Regions from separate parts of the Homo sapiens genome. Here region 1 is linked to region 2. Evidence: promoter capture Hi-C in 16 types of primary human blood cells and fetal thymus (Javierre and others, 2016). All regions are on one chromosome and are shown on one strand. Each heading gives the region's core, a stretch centred on a gene start or on the middle of the fragment in contact. The rest is flanking DNA. Distances are from core to core; before and after follow the strand shown.

Region 1 (7,609 bases), core at 3,294-5,793, 470 kb before region 2:
AAGAAAGCCTTCACCGGAACCCGACCATGGGGGCACCGTGATCTCGGCCTTCAGGCCACCAAATCTGTGGTATTTTGTTATGGTAGCCCCAGCCGAAGAAGACAGACATTCATCCAACTGGGGTGTGTTGGAGGAAGAGCAGCTAAAGAGTGCATGTTCGTTGGAATTTCTTGGAGACATTCAAAATAGATGTCCATTAGGTAGTTGGATATAGCCAGCCATACCTCAGCTGGGAGGTCTAGACAAGGTACAGAGAATTAGGTCTCTTCAGTAATGGACGACTTTATGGGAAGTGATGAAATCACCTTGGGGAGTGAGAAGGGAGCTGATGACAACCCATGAAAAAACCACACTTAGGAGCAAACACGAATAAAGAGTCATCCAAGAAGTGGGAGAGTCAGGAAGAGGAGGGTAGGTGTTTGTTTACAGACCTCCTGCCAAAAGTGGAGTCCAACTAATCTTTCCACAAATGTTTTCAGAAGTACTTTGCACTCTCAACTGCTTTGGGTTTACCGATGTCAATGTTAAAACCCACTGGCAAATTAGTGTGGCAGAGTTTATGAAATGTTTTAAATAAAATCATTTACTTAGATCATTTTTTGACTTCAGGATTTGTGAAATTGTGAAAACATGTTAACAATATCAGTCTTTTTTTTTTTTAATATCAGTCTTTCTTAAGTTTTAAAAGATTGTGTTGCATTTCTTAGAACTTTATGTTTATAAAATGCTTTACAGCCTGTTTCGTTGTTCGGCAAGAACTGAGGCAAGTGGCTATTATAAAACTTTTATTGAATACACTAGGAAGCTGCAAATTTATTCATGACTCAATAACAGAGCACTACGTCCCAAATTATATCTCTAGTCCACTGCTTTTCCGATTTTGACACACTCATGCTTCAAGTAAATATTTGTTATTTAAAAAGGAAAATAAGTGCGTAGTAGATATAATTAATAATTCTAATTATTTTTAATCTTAAAGACGATAGGAGATTGCATTCATGTTCTACCCCGGGGGATAAAGTGGGCCTGGGAGAAAAGTCAGTGCAAGTCAACCATAAAAGATACCTGAGGAGGTACGGGATCAGTCAGGATGTGACTGGTTTGAGTCTCGAGTGGATTCAGTATTAGGGATTATGGCAAAGAGTGTAGGTTGGTAGGTTTGTGGTTTAGAACTGGACCTTAAAATCTGTCCAGGGCCCAGGCTGCAAATAACAACTAGCTTGAATTCAGGAAAGTATTAACATTTTTATTCTACATCCTTTTTCACTGAGATAGGACCCTGTTTTTGAAAAGAGTGACAGTTTTTACCTTAGACTCTCCAAACTTAGTTATAGCTGGCTTTATAGCATTTTATCTGCAAAGAAGTCTTTCTCATGTTATATGATTTTTAATCTCTGAGGGCACTGATGTTAATTTCACGTTGCATTATATTTATTCATCTGCATCTACATTGTCTATTGGGTTGTGAGCTCCCTAAGTGTGGGACTATATCTTGTGCATTTTGCATCTCCAGTGGGTAGATGATTAGCTATTTGTTAATCATTAGGTAATCAACAGTGCAGTTTGGCTATCACCTGCCTGGCAGGTTCTAGTACCCCCTAGGCTGCTACATAACTTTTGCGTCAAAGTTTGCATTATACCATTGAGACCATGTTATGGTCCATGTTAGCTCCTCCTTCAAAATCCCATGTAAGTCATAAAGTAGGCAAACTGTTTGAAGGAGGAGGAAGGGTGAGAGTAAGAGGCACCCTCTGAGGCAGTAGATGAGTCAAATCAAAGTACACATTTCACATTTCATCGTGGGTTACTTAGGTCTACAGAGGTTAGCATCTAAGGAAACCACATTTCACTTGAATGAGTATCCTTTTGGTTTGTGTGTCTTCATGGCAAGACGCTGGTCTAAGGTGGAAACTTGGGGGGAGTAAAATCATCATCCATCATTTGTAGGTTGAAGCCTGAAGCTCTGTACTGAAGACTATTTTCTAGAAAATCTCAAACTGACCCCAAAAGTTAGATTAATTATTGCCTCTAATATGGAACTGCCTACTCTGAAGAGCTGTTCTTTGTCATTATTTTAAAATCTAAGAATTTAAGTTTGACGAGTGCGTAAGGTATGGGTATACATTTTCTTACATTATCAAATGGACGGAGTTGATGCTGTAGAACACTGTAACCTGATTGTTACCGACCATTGAATTAAGTGAATTGCTTGGGATATTGGAATGTAATAAACTGAAAGTTCTAGATAGATCTCAAAGAGCCAGATATATACAATTTATTTAAAAGGCCTATAACTTCCTGTTTCCATTATGCATAAATGTGATTTTTGTTTTGCTTAAGTTGTATTTGGTCCATGTAAAGTTCTAACTAATTTTTAATCCCCTTGGGTTTTAGGTGTTAAAAATAGACCAACAAGGCATGATGTTTTAGATGACTCATGTGACGGCTTTAAGGACCTCATCAAACCTCATGAGGAATTGAAGAAAAGTGGGAGAGGCAAAAAGGTCAGTGTGTAAAAATATTATTTTAAACTTTCAAATGCTGATACATCATAATGTTCTTCTCTGGGTCAATGAAACATAAACCAGTCTATCTGACTTGTCTTTTATTCTAAAAAATTGATTATGGGTAAATGCTGGAAAACTCAGAATATGAAACTGAAAGCGTTGTTTGCATTCCAGACAAAGAGTTATTATTGATAGAGCAAGCTTTCTCATATCACTTTGCTAATGCATTTCTTATAAAAATGCCTGTAGCTTCTCTCAAGCAGAGAATGTTGGTTGTGCCAGTGTTTCTTGCCATTTTATAATCGGAATAAATATTTACTAGGTAGGAGGTGAAGAATCCAAACATTCATTCACTTTTGAACTAACCAAGTCTTGACCTCAAGCCATCAGAGTGAAAGGTTTATATACTAACACTCAGGTACACCCTTCCCTTTGTGGTTTTGGCTTTAAAACCTTGCTCTTCCTCTGAAAGACTCCGCTGATCCTCTTACATGAGTAATAGAATGAGGATTTTAAATGTTTTTATCATTCAATATCTACTTGCATTGCTTAAATTTAAAATTAGCCATATATATTATACCTTGTGCCTCATTTTTATGAGGCCAAAAAAGTATAATGTAGTGAAACCTGAATTCAGAATGGTAGGGAAAAACCATACCGATTGAAAAGCAACAGATGAAAAGAATGACAGAGTAGATGGGTCTGCATGGGGCTTCCAGGTCCTGATACGCAGGCTTGAACAGATGGGCGGCTGCATTTGACCTGCGGAAGAGAAACCTGACTCCTTTGCTTCTTATCTTGGCAATGGTTAAAAGACATTTAAAATTACACAGATTTCATGAAAGTTGGCAGTAACTTGTAGAAACTTAGATTTCTTTACTGATGCTTTCTGGTTTGTCTCGGAAAAAAAAGTGGAGCAAGAAAATGGAAAGGAACCCTATTTCAGGTAAAGCAACAGATGTGGAGAGAGAGAGACTGTCAGGGTCCCATAACATGTTTGTGGCGTGGGCAACACCAAGGCACCTGCTCTACAATGGCGTTGCGCACTGTGACTCCACTGCAGCCTGCGGGACCTGCTCAGCGCGCTGCCTCCCAGGGGTGGGGCCCTTCCTAGAACGCTCGCAACACTGTGGCTGAGTTTGTGTTTTGCGTCCCAGTTTCTCAGTCTTCTTCCTACTGCTACATGGCCGCTTGACCTAGTTCATTTGGAAAGAAATAAAGAACCAGTTTCCTTTGCATCTACTACCGTTCCCGTGCCTCTCCTGCTGATGCGTCGCATGGCACCACAGCTCTGTTCTGTGCCCTCCCGCTTTACTGACCCTTTACCCTCTGCCAGTGTCTGCCCAGGGAAGCCGTGGTACCTCTCATCTCTATTGGTACTCTACGTTGTACCATGTCTGGCTTTTTTTTTTTTTAAGTGCTCAGTAAATATTGAGTGTTGAGTTACTTGTTACTCACCATAAAAATACTCCGTCCTGTCTGATCAAAAGGCATGAGGTTTGACTTTCTCATTTGCCCACAGTGGAAGTTACTGTTTCAGACGAGTGGTATTGCCTCCCTGTGCCTGGGATAGCCCTGAATCTGATGGGCTGGGTCTGTGGAAGCACTGGGTTAGGGACAGGCATCCTGGGCGGGAGTGTGGCCCCTTCTTCCTTATGAGGCATCTCACTGTAAATGGCATATGAATGGGAGATGGGTACCTGTTTGACCTTCTGGCATTCTTCTGTAGATCAAATAGTAAGTGCTCCATAAATATAAGGTGGTATTACTGTCTTGAGTAATGATAAAAGAATGAGTGGTCAGAGAGGGAGACAAAATACACAATTACAAATACACACCTCCATATCTGCCTTCAACTGCTGTGCTCAGGAACAAAAATATTTTCATATATTAAACTGCCTAACTTGCTCAAATTTAAGTCTTCTTTTAAAAATATTTTAAGAGTATTAGTAAACTTTGCCCTCATAATTTAGAATGTCATTTCTGAAACGAATCCACCACTTCTGGTTCTGTGTGAAGAATCACTCAAAGCAGGTTTTAAATGCAGATTTTCTGGGCCAGTCATGGTGGCTCATGCCTATAATCCCGGTACTTTGGGGCGGGCGGATCACTTGAGGTCAGGAGTTCGAGACCAGCCTGGCCAACATGGCAAAACCCTGGCCAACATGGCAAAATCCCGTCTCTACAAAAAACACAAAAATTGGCCAGGCCTGGTGGTGGGCACCTGTAATCCCAGCTGCTCAAGAGACTGAGGTGGGAGAATCACCTGAACCCAGGAAGGGGAGGTTGCAGTGAGTCGAGATCATGCCACTGCACTCCAGCCTGGGCGACAGAGTGAGACTCTGTCTCAAAAATAAATAAATAAATGCTGATTTTCTGGCCCCACCTGAGACCCTCCTGGCCAGCAGCTCCCGACCCCAGTGCGGCACCCCGTCCTTAACGTGGAGGGGACGAACACCTAGTGAGGGCGAAGAATCCACCTTCTGTATTGCGTCTCGCCAATAGCAGAAGGAGCAAGACCTAGGTTTCCCCTCTTTCGCAGGATTTTCTTCCTAATCCAGTCCTTATTAGTGTTCACCGCACAGCCTTTGCTTGAATGAATCAAAAACTCCTAATGCCCTAGGGTAGTGCTTCCTGACTGGGCTGCGCATTGGACTCACCTGGGGATCTGTAAGGTTTGTGGCTGCCTGGCCCCAAGCCAGACATGCTGGTGTCATTAATATGGGGTGCACCCTGGCCACTAGGATTTTTTTAAACTCCTGAGGTGATTCTAATGCAAAGCAGAGTTTGGAAACTACAGCCTTGGGACTTTTAGAATTTAAACAAGTAATTTATCCTAGAAGAAGTTTCATTTCTTTATAAACATTTCTCATGTAAAGTTGTTTCATTTTTAGACTCTAAAATTAAAGACCAAGGCTTAAAGTCCTGATTTGCGGGCTGGGTGCGGTGGCTCACACCTGTAATCCCAGCGCTTTGGGAGGCTGAGGTGGGCAGATCATGAGGTCAGGAGATCAAGACCATCCTGGCTAAGACGGTGAAACCCCGTCTCTACTAGAAATACAAAAAATTAGCTGGGCGTAGTGGCGGGCGCCTGTAGTCCCAGCTCCTCGGAAGGCTGAGGCAGGAGAATGGCATGAACCCGGGAGGCGGAGATTGCAGTGAGCTGAGATCGTGCCACTGCATTCCAGCCTGGGCAACAGAGTGAGACTCCTTCTCAAAAAAAAAAAAAAAGAAAAAAAAAAATTCCTGATTTGTTTGCTTAAAGGTTGAGTGAGTGTTTTAGGAGCGCAAATTTGATAGCAATATAGATGAAGGACGTGTTTTATTATTTTACAGGTTAGAAGGAAGAATGATATAAATTTCTTAAAAGGTAACATTAAATTTATTTTATTTTATTTTATTTTTCTGAGATGGAGTATCACTCTGATGCCCAGGCTAGAGTGTACTGGTGTTATCTCGGCTCACTGCAACCTCCGCCTCCTGAATTTAAGCGATTCTCCTGCCCCAGCCTCCTTAGTAGCTGGAACCACAGGCACCCGCCAGCACGCCTGGCTAATTTTTTAAGTTTTTTGTAGAGATGGGGTTTCACCATGTTGACCAGGCTGGTCTCGAACTCCTGACCTCAAGTGATCTGCCTTCCTTGGCCCTCCCAAAGTGCTGGAATTACAGGCGTGAGCCACAGCACCTAGCCAGCAACATTAAATTTTAAGTATATAACTTCCCAGTAGTTTGAGATCTTTTGATATGAGCATGGGGAGAGAAGTTTATGTTGATATGTGGTAATGAGTCCACAGAAACACTAAAATTTAGTTTCCTGGTTTTAAAAGTATACAGTGGAATTGTGGAAGGATTGAATTGGTGAATTAAAATTAGAAGCTTCTGAGTAGCAGCCTACAAATATAATGTTAGTATCTCAACCATTCTTTTTTTCCCATTAAATAGGTTTTACCTGCTTATTTTGTTCCTTGTTAGATTTCAAGATAAACTGTGTTAAACTGAAATTTGGAACTTAACACGGCCTTTTTTGTTTGTTTGTTTGAGATGGAGTCTCGCTGTGTCACCCAGGCTGGAGTGCAATGGCACAGTCTTGGCTCACTGCAACCTCTGCCTCCCGGGTTCAAGCGATTCTGCTGCCTCAGCCTCCCAGGTAGTTGGGACTACAGGTGCACGCCACATATTTTTATGTATAAGGACATATTAAGGTATTAGATTCTATTAAGCACAAAATTGTTTCTATTTCCTAAAGAAAACAAAATCTTGTAATTGAATATTAATGTTGAAAAAGGGAGAGTTTACAGGAAATATCTTTCACCAGCTAATGACTGAAGCAATGCCTCTACTAGAATGGAGAACAGTAAGGTCTGGGCCTGACATTTTTATGTTTTCACTTGAGAGCCAGCCTACATGCTATTTCTGTAGTGAGGAAAATGATTTGAAACTCAGATGTGTCCCGTGGCCCTAATGACTTTATTTTCTTTTTAGTTTTAAATCTGAAGTAGCACTTGCAGGTAATGTCCTATCTGGGCAGCCCTGCAGACAGGACTGTCAGTCGATGAGAGCTGTCAGTCGTGAGTTCTGAGTAATGTGAAGGTGCCAGGTAGAAGGTACAAAGGCAAGAAAGGTGGGAAGGCCTGGAGCCTGTGCGAAGAGCAGCACGGCCTTGGTGTGGCCCGGGGATGGATGCAGAACCGCGAGAAGAGAGAGGCTGACTTCAGCCACGGCCACGGGCTCTGGGGTTAGACTGCTCTCATCTTTGGTTTTCTGTAGGTTCATTGTGATTGTTGTACCAGGGTATTGTTTTTGTTGTTTATTTACTTGAGAGTCACAGGCCGTCCTGTCTTTGATCTGTTCTGGAAACTTCTCCACTGTGATTTCTTTTGCCTGTTTTCTCACGCCTCCATTGCTGGGAACGCAATCTCGTGTGCTATCCTTTGCTTCTATAGCCCATGTCTCATGATTTTCCTCTATTTCTTTCCTCTTGTATCTCCTTATTTCATTCTGGATGTCTTCTATTGGTTTCTTTTCCATTTCACCTTTGACTCTTTTTAAGTCTATTCTGATGCTAAATCCATATACTGAGTTTTAACATGTATTATTTTTCA
Region 2 (7,711 bases), core at 4,441-6,940:
TAGAGAGAATCTAGTCCTGAGCATGGTCGACCTGGGTTCTGGGCAGGTTACCTGTGCCATGCCCTTATTCTACCCGTTGGCCTGTGCAGGGAGGTGAGCACTGAGGAAAGACAGGTGTGTTCACTCTGCCCAGGTGAGCTCCGGGATGGGACTCCCTAGGAGGGATCGTGGGGAGGGACGTCCAGGCTACCATTCAGGGCTGGCCATCTGGGCTTCAGGGACATCCTGACGTCTTTGCCTTGTCCTGTGGTCTCCACAGAGACAGTGTTGGGGCTCCCCTGAGTTGCTGTAATTCCACAAGTGGGGAGCTCCCCTCACATCTCTCTGCTTCCTCGGCCAACCCTCCTCTCCAGCTGCCAGGGCCCTGTCTACCTGACACTTGGACCTTGCTGCATATTTCTCAGCTTCCGTCCACCTCTCCCATCTGGCTGTCTTTGTGTGTGTGTGTGTGTGGCTTTGTCAGTTACGGCGGGGTTTCTGGGCCACGTGGTCCGTGCTGTTTGAGCCATCCTGAGCTAGAGGCTGTACCATGTCTCTAGGGGAAGGGGTGGGTATGAGGCCTGGAGAACTTTCAGGGCTGTCTTGCGTGGAGGACTGTCTACAAGGTTTAGGAGCCGGGATAAAGGTAGTCCCTGCAAAGCCCGGACAGCCACAGCCCACCTCGGGGGCCATCGAGTGCTACCTGGGAGGTCTCCTCCCCATCATTTGCTCAGGCTACGTGTTAGTCAGGTTCTCCAGAGAAGCAGAACCAATTCCTTAACTGTGTGGTGTGGTGAGCCACAGGCCAGCAGGCTGGAGACCCGGGGAGGAGCTGCAGGCCAGTCCCGAGGCCACCTGCTGCCAGAACTCCCTCTTGCTCTGGGGAGGTCAGTCTTTGTTCCATTCATGTCCCCTCCTCATTATGGAAGACCATCTGCTTTACCAATTTAAATATTTATCTCATAGTCCACCAACTTAAATATTTATCTCATCTGAAAACAACCTTACATAAACATCCAGAGTACTGTTTGTCCAACTGTCCAGGAACCATGGCCCAGGCATAACATCAACCATCAAAAGGCATTTCTCGGGTTTGCGTGTTCTCTGGCGTCTGACCCCCAAAGCCACATTCTCCTTGTCCTCAAGGATGGGTTTCTGGCCCTTGGCAGCTTTGAGACAGATTTGAGGTATTTGAGGTTCCTTGGAAGCGCCAGTCATGCCCTGGTATTCTGTGTCCCGGGGGCCCCGATGCTGAGCATGGACATCAGGCTGGTTCACAGTCGGTGACTGCAGCACCCTCACCAGCCTCGCATAAAGCAGGAATGTTTAGCCCTGTCTTAAGGGTTTGCTTGGGGAAGGAAATGATGGTGAGCAAGGTAGGACTTTTCACATGGGGAGTCATTGTGCTTACATTGTGGATTACGATGATCCCATCCGTTTTCAGAGAGTGTTTTCTCTATTTGCTTATTGCCAGGGTCTGGTCCTGGGGAAAGAAGCAATTGGGGGCTCTGGTGAGAAGGCACAGGGGCTCCCCCAGAAGCAAGGACAGAGAGAGCACGGCTGTGCTTGCTCAGGTGTGCTCAGCAGGCTGCGACGTCTGCAGCCTGGGGCTCCTGCGCCTGTCTCTTTGATGTGAGCTCTACCTCTCCTTCACCATCCAGGCTGTCCTGGGGCAAACTCCAGGTGGTCACTTTTAGCTGTGTCTCTGGGCAGACAAGTCTAGACAAGACACCACTTTCTTCTCCACTCCTGTTTCCTGAGTGTACCTAGGGAACTACACCAGGTCCTCCCCCAGGCACCTGCTCCATTAGTGACTGGTGGCCATCTTCACACTCCCGGTGAGCAAGGAAGTGGCACCAGCTGGGATCCTTCTTCTCAAGCCACACCCAGCTGAGAAGGCTGAAGTAGGCACCGCAGCCTGTCCTGTGGACTTGAACTGCTCCGCTGCTGCAGGCGTGTCCTGCCAGGTGGAACAAAAGGAAGAACACACTTCACATGCACAGTGCACACTAGAATGCTATTTAATTCTGAGGGGAATTGGGTGACCCTTGACTCCCTCCTCCCTCTGACTTGTTAATTTTCATTTTCTAGATCTCATGGACTTTTTCATAAAGCTTACGTTTTATATTTTACAATTTGTATTGAAGCATAATGTGCAGAGTGAAAAGCACCAATCTTGGGAGTTCAGCCAGGTATGTTTTGGCGAATGTGTTCACCTGTGTGACGCCGGTCCCCATTGTGACATGGAGCATTCCCATCCAGCCCCAGACTACACCTTCCCCTTCCCTGCCTCCTCTCATGATCTGCTGCACTGCATTCCCTACACAGCAGACAGAGCAGGAGTCATGCCTTTCTTCTAAGGAACATCCTCCAGTGACTTCATTGCACTGAGAAGCCCCTCCTGGCCCTTGCAGGCCGCTGTGCTCTGGGCCCTACTACAGCTCTGACTGGTCCTGCAGCCCCCAATCCCTGGCCTTCTTCGTGGCTCCGAGCACAAACCCCGTCTTAGCACCTCAGGGCCTTTGCATTTGCTCCCCTGCCTCCATTTCTGGAATTCTGCCCCTGAGATCTGCACGAATTGAGCCCTTTCATCATCTGGGTCTCAGGTCAGGAACGCTAACCAAGACTCTGCCCTTGACCAAACTTTAGTCAGGCTCCTCTGAGCCATCTTTTCAAGTAGGTCCTGTCTGTCTTTGGTCTGTCCAGCCCCATCTTAGCAAAGAATCCTGCTAGGTCACCCCTCGACTTTCTAGGCCATCCCCCCACTTGCTAGGCCACCCCCTCACTTGCTAGGCCACCCCCCCACTTGCTAGGTCACGTCTCCCCTTGCCAGTTCACCCCCCACTTACTGGGTCACCCCCATTTGCTAGGTCACCCCCTCACTCACTAGGTCACCCCCACTTGCTAGGTCACCCCCCCACTTACTAGGTCACCCCCACTTACTAGGTCACCCTCCACTTGCTAGGTCACCCCGTCACTTGCTAGGCCACCCCCCTTACTAGGTCAAGTCACCCCCCCCGCTTGCTAGGTCACCCCCCATTTGCTAGGTCACCCCCTCACTCACTAGGTCACCCCCACTTGCTAGGTCACCCCCCCACCCTTCCTATCTGACTGTGTTATTTATTCCCCACCTTTGATGTCTAAGTCTCTGACCACCGTTATGAAGAATCCTGTTAGGTCCCATAGTCAAGTTTTGAGACAGCTGCCACAAGGTTATGGAGGAGGAAATGAAGCCTCCATTTTCGTGCTGGGTTTGTCAAGTCCATTCAGGTAGAAAGTGGCAAAGTCAGGCTTGGAAATGGGTTTTGTGACTCCATGTTTCTCCTCGTTCAGACCTGCCTTGGAGAACCTTTCCCTCCACGTCTTCTGTCTGTGTTTTAGAGAACTGGAAAATAGGCCACTTTAACATGGTCTCTCCTACAAAGAGGTAAGAAGACCCAGCAGAAGGGCAGAAGAACTGGGAGTCTGGCCAGACCTCTGGATGAATGTCAGGGTTGTTGTTATACCCAGGACTGTTGTCACCCTCTTGTCTCTGGACATAGTGACAAGGGACAAGGCAAAGAGAGAGGGCCTGTGTTCTTGTGGACATGTGGTTGGCAAGGTTCTGGCCAGAGTCGGAAGGGCCAGGACCCCACGTTCCTTCCTCCTATGTTTGTATCCCATTCAAACCAAGATTAAAATTCTAAGCCCTCCAGCCAACTGAATGGACGCCTCCTCTCAGCCCAAGGCATTCTAGTGTTAACCTCAAACACTGGTTCAGGCCATGATGGGACGTGGGGATCAGGAATACCTCATGATATCCTCCTCCCATTGGAATTCAGGCACAGCTGGCCAGCATTAACATTAAAACAGAGTGCCTAAGGCCACGTGCGGTGGCTCATGCCTGTAATCCCAGCACTTTGGGAGGCCGAGGTGGGCGGATCACTTGAGGTCAGGAGTTCGAGACCAGCCTGGTCAACATAGTGAAACCCTGTCTCTACTAAAAATACAAAAATTACTTGGCGTGGTGGTGGATACCTGTAATCCCAGCTACTTGGGAGGCTGAGGCAGGAGAATCACTTGAACCCAGGAGGTAGAGGTTTCAGTGAGCCAAGATTGTGCCACTGCACTGCAGCCTGGGCAACAGAGCGAGACTCCATCTCAGAAAGCAAAAAACAAAAAAACAAAAAACCCAAATCCTCTCTTCTCTCAACATCCTCTCTACCACTTCTCTGGTCTACATAGAAAACTCTTTCGAAGAGCTAGTGTTCTGAGATACGACTTGGGTTTTTGTTTTTGCATCTGAAGAATCCTGAATTATCAAACACCAGAAAAGCACAAACACAAAAGAACTTGCTGAAAGGACTTTATTTGAGATGAGGAAACAAAGTTGATGGCAATGTATAGGACACACGACAGTTTCCTTCTAGGTCATAAAGTAAATTATGAATATATTTCTCTCTGTTCTCATCCCTCAGAGGCAGCAGAATCTGTGGTTAATACCCATGACAGTGCAGGTCCCATAGGAATATTCTGTTGAATAACAGGACCTTCTGCAATGGCAAGTGAAAGCCCTTGTTGAGCCTGGGGACAGAGAGAGAGAGCATCAGAAATTGAGCACCAGGGTCAGCAGCGGGCAGTAAAGAGAATCTTCAGGAAGTTGCATGCTTGCTGACATGTAATGCTGGCTGCATTACAGCCAATAGCATGATCACACCATCAATAGGAATAAATACGCAGAGCAGTGTTGGTCACACACAGGATTAGAGAGCCATTCTGATATGCTGTACTTATCTGCTCCTTCCCTGTCACACACACATCTGAATGCACCCATATGACTGTCTCCAGTTTGCAACGGTTCCTATAAAAGTCAGATTAAAAAACATTCCTTTAGCAGCTGGATGTGGTGGCTTACGCCTGTAATCCCAGCACTTTGGGAGGCCAAGGTGGGTTTATCACAAGGTCAGGAGTTCAAGACTAGCCTGGCCAAGATGGTGAAACCCCGTCTCTACTGAAAAAAAAAAAAATACAAAATTTAGCCAGGCTTGGTGTCTGGTGCCTGTAATCCTAGTGACTTGGGAGGCTGAGGGAGAGAATTGCGTGAACCCAGGAGGCAGAGGTTGCAGTGATCTGAGATAGTGCCACTGCACTCCAGCCTGGGTGACAGAGCGAGACTCCATCAAACAAAACAAAACAAAACAAAGCAAAACAAAACATTCCTTTAAAATTAGGCTCTCTTCCTTGAAGTAGAGACTCCTCAATACATTTCTACATGGCAAAAAATTAGAAAATTTCATAGACTTATCATAGAATTAAAAAATCTTTAGAGAAAAGTCATGCCTTGAATATCACTGATTCTTCCTTTTCAGTACAAACATAAAGTAATTGAGGCCTGGGGAGGTGATCACCTAAGAGAAAGAGCCAGCTGTTGGATCTAATTCTAGAAGTGCTTGGTTTTCCTCTCTACACTCCTAGCTCTGCAATGCTGGTGTCTCTTACCCAAAGCTCTAAGACTTGAGCTTGCATCCTCTGCAAAGGAGACGGCAAAGTCCTGGTCATTTGCCCCACGCTGCTCCTGGGCATCAGCCTCATAAGCTTTTGCCTGCAGTGGATCATCCTCAGCTTGGAGTGGCTCAGCCTTGGCCTGGAGGGCCACGAGGAGAACAGCAGTGAGGATGGTGAGGGTTCTCATGGCTAGGGTCGCTGGAGGAGAGAGAGCAGGAGCAGATGTGTGGGGAGTGAGGAGCCAGCCTGGATTTATAGGTCTGCTGGGAGAAGGCTCAGGGACAGATGTTGCGGTGAGACGGGGAGTGCATGTGATTGGGGAGCAGAAGAGCTACCCTTGCCCTCCATGTCCCTTTGATGCTCCTTTGTTCTCCAAGCTTCATTGTAGTGTGAGGCTGTTTATTGAGTGTCTGTTCTGGTCCCAGCTGATAGTGATGATAAGAACAGTGTTACATTGTCCTGTTTTCCATCTGCTGGAATATTTACTTGTTAATATTCAAAAAAGAAAAGAACAGTGCTTTCAATGAATAATTTCAGGAATCAAATGCCTCTTATTTTCTGAAGGTGGGGCTGGCCACTCTCTGGAGGTCTAGACCTTGAGGCCAGAGCTGGATCCCGCTAGAGTAGAGAGTTAATTCATTGCAGGATTCAGGGGGCATTTCTGCCCTCATGAAGGAGGCTTTGAGATTATGGGGTGAATAGGCTCTTGTGGGGCACAGTGTGGAGAAGATAATGACCTTATCAGCCTATAAGGGAAAAGAACTCAGTGGGATACTAGGTAAAGAGTTAGTAAAACTAAAGCCAAAAGATTTATTTCAAGAAACCCATGTGATCTGAATGTATCAACTAAAATATGTACTAGGTATTTCTCTCCACTTTGAGAAACATCGAAACAATTGACATGCCCACAATCCCCCTCTGAAATTTTATTTTATTTTTAATTTTAGAAAATGTTGAATTGCCCACAAGGACCATTCAAAGGGTAAAAGGAGTAATGAGCCTCCATCCTTGCCCCAGCCCTGCAGCTCTGCTCCAGGAAATCTCCACTTAAAAATTAAACATTGGTTTGTGCTTTGTTTTTTCTCCCTAATGCTGTAATTTGAATACTTTGTAGCTCAAAACATATAGAACTCTACCATTATTTTCATAGTCTCTTGTTTCTGGTCTTCTATTCAGGTATTTTATCCATTTTGAGTTAAGTTTTGTATATGCCAAAAGAGAAGGGTCCAGTTTTATTGTTTTGCATATGGAAATAGTATTCCCACCACCATTTATTGAAGAGACTCTCCTGTCCCTATTGTGTCTTCTTCATGCCATTGTCAAAAGTTACTTGACCATATGTGTTTCGATGTGTTTCTGGACTCTCAATTTTATTTCACTGGTATGTGTCTGGTTTTATGCCAATACCATATTGTTTTGATTACCGTAGCTTTGTAATATAATTTAAAACCAGGAATTGTGATGTCTTCAACTTTGTTTTTTTTTCTCAGAATTGTTTTGTCTATTTGGGTTCTTTCACCATTTCATACAAATTTTAGGATTTTTTTTTTTATTTCTGTAAAGAATGCCATGGGGATTTTGATAGGAATTGTGCTGAATCGGTATATTGTTTTGTTTGGGATAGACATTTTAACAATCTTAATTCTTCCAATTTTCAGCCCAGGATATCTTTCCATTTATTTTTACATTCTTTAATTTCTTTCACTATTTTTTTTTTTTTCATTTTCAGTGTGTAGATCCTTCACCTCCTTGTTTCTTCCTAGGTGTTTTATTTTTTGATGCTATTGTACATGGAATTGTTTTCTTGATTTTTGTTTCAGTTTTGTTAGGGAATCTATGGGCATTTAAAAATGCATTTGTTCTGTATTTATTTGAATTTTGCCTTCATTTACCCAGCAGGAGATGACCATTTAACTAACATCTAAATTTCGAATTAAACTTTCCCTCTCCAACCCAAACTGTAATTGTCCATTGTGACTTATAGCTGTCTATGCCTCTTTCCCCAGTAGTTCATGGGACAGGCAATAATTACTCTATCACCTGGAAATCCTACCCTGGAGCTGTTACTCAGATACCCTGATCTAGCTAACAGGACAAGATACTTCTGTAAATAAGTGATCTAATTTGTCTTGACTTAAAGGAGCATTTTGGAATTGTATGCTCTATCTTTGGAAACTAAGAAGTGTTCCCAGCCTATTTTAATTGAAATAGAAGATAATGCAGACCAATCCCCATGGGCATTGGTAAA

The links. Contacts are between HindIII fragments. The CHiCAGO score rates a contact against its expected background, and 5 or more counts as called.
Region 1: a fragment that was not itself captured here is called in contact with the fragment with the promoter of DEFA6 in region 2 in 1 of 17 cell types (monocytes); the score reaches 5.1 in monocytes.

What each region holds. Positions count from the first base shown.
Region 1 is chr8:6,452,749-6,460,357 of GRCh38, forward strand. MCPH1 (microcephalin 1) reads left to right here. Exons shown (of 14, transcript NM_024596.5): 9 at 2,395-2,504. Among named protein-coding and RNA genes, the nearest start is that of MCPH1, 50 kb to the left of the region's middle. The HindIII fragment of the contact is 3,675 bases long and covers 2,707-6,381 here.
Region 2 is chr8:6,920,386-6,928,096 of GRCh38, forward strand. It overlaps DEFA6 (defensin alpha 6), which reads right to left and starts at 5,691. Exons shown (of 2, transcript NM_001926.4): 1 at 5,458-5,691; 2 at 4,312-4,542. The coding sequence starts at 5,650. The coding sequence ends at 4,433. RefSeq lists an enhancer at 3,536-4,036. The HindIII fragment of the contact is 287 bases long and covers 5,552-5,838 here.